Regions from separate parts of the Homo sapiens genome. Here region 2 is linked to region 1. The links are contacts of gene promoters, found by promoter capture Hi-C in human tissues and cell types (Jung and others, 2019). All regions are on one chromosome and are shown on one strand. Each heading gives the region's core, a stretch centred on a gene start or on the middle of the fragment in contact. The rest is flanking DNA. Distances are from core to core; before and after follow the strand shown.

Region 1 (3,878 bases), core at 539-3,038:
CTCAAAAGAAACAAATAAACAAAAATTAGTCAGGCATGGTGGTGTGCACCCGTAGTTCCAGCTACTTGAGAGGCTGAGAGGTGGGAGGATGGCTTTGGCCTGGGAGGTTGAGGCTGCAGTGAGCCATGATTGTGCCACTGCACTCCAGCCTGGGTGACAGAGTGAGATCTTGTCCTAACATATACATGTATATATACACACACACTGGTTTTAGCTAAATTGATTATAACTCAGGGACCGTGAGCTTAGGATGGACAGAGGTGCATAACATTGATTACTTTTGTTCCAATATTGACTTTTTTCTATATGAGTGATTCATTTAAATTTGGAGGGTGGAATAAATTGATATTAGTTTCCAGTCTAACTGGAATATCTGCAGCCAGAGGACAAAGTACAAGGACTTATCAGAGAGGAGACAATGAAGCTCCATGCTCTGGAAAAAGGAAACAAGAGGCTGAGGGAATGAGATAGCTTCTAAGGAGGGAGCTTACAAAGGCCCCTCCTCCCCTGGCTCTTGCCCCGTGGGCCAGGCTAATTTGCATTTCAATGAGGACTTAATACTACTGAAGATTTTATGAAACGCCTAAGCTTCTCAAATGTTTGTTACTTTTGTTACCCTAGCTGAAATCTGCAATTACCAGTATTTTTAAAAAATCCTAAAATGAAGAGAAGAGGCCTGTGGGTGTTCAGTCAAGGAGGGAGGGGTCAAGTCTCAGTCCAGGAACTACTCTGTGCTGGGAGAAGCAGCCAGATACGGCACAGGTCGCGGTAGCCGAGAAAGAAAGCGAGAGAAAGGGTGAGCCGGGGAGTCGCTGGGCCAGACTGAAGTGTGCCTGTGTAGAATAACTGGCAGGAGAGCTGCATTTTCTGACCCCGGGAGGTAAAAGACGACGCCGTCCTTGGCACTGAGTGCGGTGACCACCAAGAGGAGCAAAAGTCATGAGTCTCCGACCCCCAGGCCCCCGGCTCAGCTGCCTCCACTCCACCCTACTCTTCTCAGCCCCAGCCCAGAAAGCAGGCAGCGAGGCAGGTCTTTGAACCGGACCAGGTTCCTTCCCCAAACACCCGGATCCAGAGAGGGGCAGGAATTCCCTAGTCATTTTCCCCTGCTCCTCCCCACATCATCCGCCCGAGGGGCGGCAGATCCAGCGGAAGCTGTCCGTGGTGCTGACTCCTGCCTTTGGCTTGGCCGGACCCGCTGCCCGCTGAGCGCGCTGCAGCCAAGCAGGGGGCTCGTGTGGCGGGGCCACGGGAGGGTGAGGGTCCTCAGGTCCGCGACCAGCTCCAGGCTCTGCTGTTAAATCCCAGCCCGAGCCCTCTAGCGTCTCTGCCCTCCGCAACCTGGCCGCTAGGCAGGATCCAGCCTTTAAGAACGGGTCAGTCGTGCCTCTCTCAAGCCCCCAGCTGCATTGCAATCTCCCACCGCTACTTCCTTCCCCGCTCCTTCCCTCCTAAGACTGCACCGGCTCCTCCCGATAGCCTGACGCTTCGCGCCTCTCCTCCGCCCTCCTCCACTGTGCGCTCCTCCGGACCCTGACCCTCCAGGGGCCGTGCAAGCTCCTGCAGTAGAGATTCGTCCTCTTCGCTGCTCTGGCCAGGTTTGCCGGCCCCTCCTCCCGTTTCGGATTCCATCCTCCCCACACTGTCCTCTTCACTAGTTCTCTAAGCACCGAGCATGGCAGAGCGCGCTCCACCCCTATTTTCCATACATGGGAGCTGGAGTGGGGGGCGGAGCTGAGGGGAGGCGCTCCCAGTCCCTCTAAGAAGCTGCTAGCCCACTGGGAAACATTTGGATCCGTTCAGCTCCCGCGGAGAAGCGAGACCGGATCACCGACGTGGGCAGAGGACTACCGAGGGCCAGCAGAAATTCTGCCCCTTCTTCCCGCGAGTGCTTTCCCGCTCTCCAAACCCCACTCCCAGGTAGGATCGCGCTCCTGAGTCTGCCTGCGTGGACTGCGAGGACCGTAAATAGAGGCGGAAGCGTTTAAATAAACCGTATGTTCTAACCGTGCTTAGGTTTATTTTACAGAGGTGAGAGGACAACACTTTTTGCTACTTTTGCTGTTGTTCTGTGGCCGGTTATTCCCAAGGGAGGACTCAGGCGATGGGGGAGGGGCGCGGCTGGTGTAGGAGGTCGGATGGAGTATGGCAAGGGAAGTGACGGACTTTGATTACCTTTGAACAGGTGGCCATGGCCTCATCGACCACTCGGGGCCCCAGGGTTTCTGACTTATTTTCTGGGCTGCCGCCGGCGGTCACAACTCCCGCCAACCAGAGCGCAGAGGCCTCGGCGGGCAACGGGTCGGTGGCTGGCGCGGACGCTCCAGCCGTCACGCCCTTCCAGAGCCTGCAGCTGGTGCATCAGCTGAAGGGGCTGATCGTGCTGCTCTACAGCGTCGTGGTGGTCGTGGGGCTGGTGGGCAACTGCCTGCTGGTGCTGGTGATCGCGCGGGTGCGCCGGCTGCACAACGTGACGAACTTCCTCATCGGCAACCTGGCCTTGTCCGACGTGCTCATGTGCACCGCCTGCGTGCCGCTCACGCTGGCCTATGCCTTCGAGCCACGCGGCTGGGTGTTCGGCGGCGGCCTGTGCCACCTGGTCTTCTTCCTGCAGCCGGTCACCGTCTATGTGTCGGTGTTCACGCTCACCACCATCGCAGTGGACCGCTACGTCGTGCTGGTGCACCCGCTGAGGCGGCGCATCTCGCTGCGCCTCAGCGCCTACGCTGTGCTGGCCATCTGGGCGCTGTCCGCGGTGCTGGCGCTGCCCGCCGCCGTGCACACCTATCACGTGGAGCTCAAGCCGCACGACGTGCGCCTCTGCGAGGAGTTCTGGGGCTCCCAGGAGCGCCAGCGCCAGCTCTACGCCTGGGGGCTGCTGCTGGTCACCTACCTGCTCCCTCTGCTGGTCATCCTCCTGTCTTACGTCCGGGTGTCAGTGAAGCTCCGCAACCGCGTGGTGCCGGGCTGCGTGACCCAGAGCCAGGCCGACTGGGACCGCGCTCGGCGCCGGCGCACCTTCTGCTTGCTGGTGGTGATCGTGGTGGTGTTCGCCGTCTGCTGGCTGCCGCTGCACGTCTTCAACCTGCTGCGGGACCTCGACCCCCACGCCATCGACCCTTACGCCTTTGGGCTGGTGCAGCTGCTCTGCCACTGGCTCGCCATGAGTTCGGCCTGCTACAACCCCTTCATCTACGCCTGGCTGCACGACAGCTTCCGCGAGGAGCTGCGCAAACTGTTGGTCGCTTGGCCCCGCAAGATAGCCCCCCATGGCCAGAATATGACCGTCAGCGTGGTCATCTGATGCCACTTAGCCAGGCCTTGGTCAAGGAGCTCCACTTCAACTGGCCTCCTAGGGCACCACTCGAGGTCAATCTGGTGCTTATTCTCAGCACCAGAGCTAGCTAAGCCAACATAGGGCAACATTTCCAGCCCAGCCCTCTTGTCCGGCTGTCTGTCTTGTCCTTGTGTGTTTGTAAAATGTTAAGCGGGCTTTGGTGAGAGTCTTGCTCTTTGCTTGGGGGAGGCCAAAGAGAGGGAAGAGGATTTCTTATTTCTTCTTTATGCCCTTGAAGGACAAACAAAACTTTTTCTCCACGTTCAGAAAAGTATTTCAGAACCACGATTGCCTTCCTGGCGTCCCCTCCTCCTGCTCGTTGGTGAAATGAACAATATGAATGGGATTTAAAAGGAATGCATTGGGCTTGGTAAAGATTTTCAGTTTGCCTTTAGAAAAAGGACCCAGCTGAGAGTACCATGATATTGCTTAGTCCATTTGAACCCTTGCATTCCTAGAATTTCAGGTAAATATGTATTAAAACTCTACATCTAGGATTTCAGCATTTCCTGAGTAAGACCTTTATATGCCAAAAGGGTTT
Region 2 (3,878 bases), core at 705-3,204, 36 kb before region 1:
GGAGACAGCAGAGAGTGAATCTGTTGTGTGAGTGTGTGTCTGCCTCAGAGCCTGGTATACATGGGCATTCATCCAATGGGATTTTCTCCCAGTCTCTGCCTAGGAGATCAGAGTTTATGAAAGTGGAGGAGATAGCCTGAGATAAGCAACCAGGACAAGGTCAGGCTCACCAGAAAGAGTCGAGGCTCTGTCTCCTGTGAGGACTCTACTTCCCTGCTTTAGTTCATGTGTTCTCCTTGGAGAGAACAACTGCCTTGCTCTCTGGGATACTTTTCTCATTGCCCTCTGACTCCTTAGGGTGAGGGGGAAAAGTTCAGAGGAGGGATTGGAGGGGACCACTAATCCTGAGAATGGGGGCAGCCAGGCTCTGGTGGAGGGTACCTGTCCACGTCCCTGCCAGTCTGCTGAGCCTGTCTACCTGCCCTCCAGAGCAGCAGAGCTGGGATGTTTTTAGATTGCATCACCAAATGCAGAGATGAGCTGCTTGAAGCCCCATCAATTTGCCTAAACCTTGGCCCTGGCAAATCCTGCCTCTCCCACTAGACAACAATCATAGCATCCAAACAGGTCAGTAAGAAACAAATGTGCATTGAGTGGCATTAAATGTGCAAAACCACTTCAGAATCACCCACTCTCTTTTCTTAAAAAAATCTATTTTGTGAGAAATTAAATTGCATGGAAAAGTACTTGTCTTAGTCTGTTTAGTGTTGCCATAATGGAATATCTGAGGCTGGGCCATTTATAAAGAAAAGGGGTTTCTTTGGCTCATGGTTCTGCAGGCCATACAAGCAGCATGGCACTGGCATTGATTCAGCTTCTGATAAGTACCTCAGGCTGCTTCCACTCATGGAAGAAGGTGAAGGGAAGTGGGCATGTGCAGAGCTCACGTGGCAAGAGGGGAAGCAAGAGAGCGAGGGGGAGGTACCATGCTCTTTTCAACAACCAGCTCTTGTGGAGATAATGAGAACTCACTCATTATCTCAAGGGCAGCACTAAGCCATTCATGAGGGATCCACCCCCCTGACCCAAACACCTCCCATTAGGCCCCACCTTCAACACTGGGGATCAAATTTCAGCATGAGCTTTTGGGGGAGCAAAAATCTAAACCACCAACCAAAGTACAAAAAGAATATAACCAAGACATTGTCACCACTTAAATTAGTAGCTGTTAACATCCTATTTTCTTCCATACTTAAATAAATAAGCATTAGCAATGGAGGTACAGTCCTGTTAAGCTATGTTGACCAATCCCATTTCACTCCCCACAACCATCCCGAGTTAACCTGTAGCAGGAGGTTACTGTGGATGCTTCCAGTCTGCAATAAGTACACACATGCTTCCATGTCCTTGAGCAGGATTCATACGTGTGTTTTCAAAATTGACACAAATGGCATTGTTCTAGACACATTTGTCATCTTGCTTTTCCCATCCAACATTGTTTTTGAAATCTGTGTTGACATATATGATCTGGACACACACATATACTTCCGTTTAACTGTGAAGTATTACATGCTGTGTACCCACCACTTTACAATGACTGCTGGACATCCGGGTGGGAATTTCTCCCTAACTCTGGTGGCTGTGCCTGTGCCTGCCTCCCTGAGGCTGTGTGTGAGTCTCTCAAAAGGAGACTGGGTGTGCATTTTCAGCTTTACCAGGTCCTGCCAAAGGGCCTGTTTCACTCCCTCCAGTGCGGCTTTCCCCTGCTGCCCCTGTACATCTTACAGGGGCCTCCTCTTCTCTGATGATGGGTGTGTGATGGTTTAATACTGAGTGTCAATTTGATTGGATTGAGGGATACAAAGCATTAATCCGGGGTGTGTCTGTATGGGTGTTGCCAAAAGAGATTAACATTTGAGTCAGTGGACTGGGGAAGGCAGATCCACCCTTAATCTGATGGGCACAATCTAGTCATCTTACAGCAAATATAAAGCAGGCAGAAAAAAAACATGGAAAGGAGAGATGGCCCTAACTTCCCAGCCTACATCTTTCTCTTGTGCTGGATGCTTCCTGCCCTTGAACATCGGACTCCAAGTTCTTCAGTTTTGGGACTCAGACTGGCTCCCCTTGCTCCTCAGCTTGCAGACGGCCTATTGTGGGACCTTGTGATCATGTAAATTTATACTTAATAAACTCCCATATATATATGTGTGTGTGTGCGTGTGTGTGTGTGTGTGTATATATATATATATACACACACACACACACGCACACACACACATATATCTCCTATTAGTTCTGTCCCTCTAAGAGAACCCTAATACAGGTGGCCACTCCCATCTTCCTGGTTTCTCTCCTTCCCTGCTCCTTTTCCTTTCATGCTTGCTTTACTGGCTTTTCTTCCTCCCCTCCTCCCTACTTGGGGCATTCACCTAGAGCTCTCCTCCAGCCTCTCTAGCTTTTGTTCATGGCAGGAGCCTCATGGTCCCAGAGTGAGGCAGGTGTAGCTGAGATGTGTCTCACCTGGCCAGCACAATGTTCTTGAATCATTTTGAATCTCCCTCAGGTACCACACCCACTGTTTTATACCAGCCACATTGGCACTCGTAGTAGAGATGGTAGGTGGGTTCACTCAGCATCCATTCCAACCCACTTCTAGGATACCCTCCTCTCTGGTAGAGGCTGGGAAGCTAAGATCTGCCTGTCCCAAGCTCCTTGCAGGAATGGCTCTGGATGGGATTCAGATTTATCAATCAGATGCACTTGCTTGGGACATGAATTCAGAACTAAGTGGGGAGGTTTGCAGCACCTATTTTCCGTGCTGGATTCCAACAGGCACAACATGACTCTGGAGCCAACAGCCCTAGGAGCAGCTTCCTGAACCCTGGCCACCAGAGGTGGAGACCTCCAGCCAGTAGCTATTTGGTACCTCCTCAGCTTTTTGATTATAGCAGAAGTGTCAATTCCCTTCCTTTGGCGGAGCAGTTCTGTGATGTTTTTTAGGAATCTCCTCTCAGCCTACAGACTATTTATTCCTCCATCCCTTCCAATGCCCCTGTAAGTACCCAATTCCCTGACTTAAATTCACTTCTCCTTAAACTAGCTAGATAAAGGGGAACTGAGCTGCAATTGAAACCTGACCAATAGAGTCCCTGATGGAGTGGAGTGTTTGATCCCTGATTTATTCCCTTCCTTCCTCTGAGAGCATATTCTGACTTCAATTTCATTTACTCAATTATTGAATCATCCACAAATATGATTAAGCCTCTACTAGATGCTTATCGCTGGGCTGAACAGGGGAGAAATGATGATGAAATAAGATGGTACCAACCAGCGACCCTATTCCAGTCTTTGGAAACACCATTCTCCCCGTCTTCTAAACTAGAAACCACACAACCACACATAAGCCTCTTTTTACCTGCCCACTGCCCATCTGCATGGCAGCTCTAAGTTCTGGCATCATTGTGAGCCCTGAGGCCCCACCATATCCAAGCATATCTCTGTGTAGACAAAATGACAGACAAGCTGTAAGGAAGGAGGTTATTACTGAGAAGGTCACCTGTGTTTTTGAAGTTTCCAAAGGGCAACATTAGCATTAGCCTCACCGGTGCAATGTATTTGGGAGCCCAGAGATTTGGGTTTATGAGAACTGTTAAATTGCCACTTCTTCCCAAGACAAAGTACCTCATCAACTTGGCTGAAACAGCTGCTTTCACAACAGCCAAACTGGAATCACATCTGGGAAGGTTTTAACCAAACAGACAATTTGTTTTTGTATAAAAGGATGTGCTAAACACTGAGATCTGTCACGCACCAAGAGGGAGTGGAAAAAACAACCCATGAATATCTTTTAATTAAATGACTCAGGGCAGCTGCAGGGACATACATACTTTTCCTTTTTTAGAATTGGCAAGGAGCTTATGAATTATTTAATATAG

The links. Contacts are between HindIII fragments. The study calls those that stand out against the background at their distance.
Region 2: a contact is called between a fragment that was not itself captured here and the fragment with the promoter of PRLHR in region 1, in 1 of the 25 tissues and cell types used here (dorsolateral prefrontal cortex).

Annotation. Positions count from the first base shown.
Region 1 is chr10:118,593,558-118,597,435 of GRCh38, reverse strand. PRLHR (prolactin releasing hormone receptor) reads left to right here and starts at 1,788. Exons shown (of 2, transcript NM_004248.3): 1 at 1,788-1,920; 2 at 2,186-3,878. The coding sequence starts at 2,192. The coding sequence ends at 3,304. RefSeq lists enhancers at 403-1,211, 1,212-2,020, 2,021-2,829. The HindIII fragment of the contact is 7,132 bases long and covers 1-3,878 here.
Region 2 is chr10:118,629,270-118,633,147 of GRCh38, reverse strand. No RefSeq gene overlaps it. Among named protein-coding and RNA genes, the nearest start is that of PRLHR, 36 kb to the right of the region's middle. The HindIII fragment of the contact is 7,725 bases long and covers 1-3,878 here.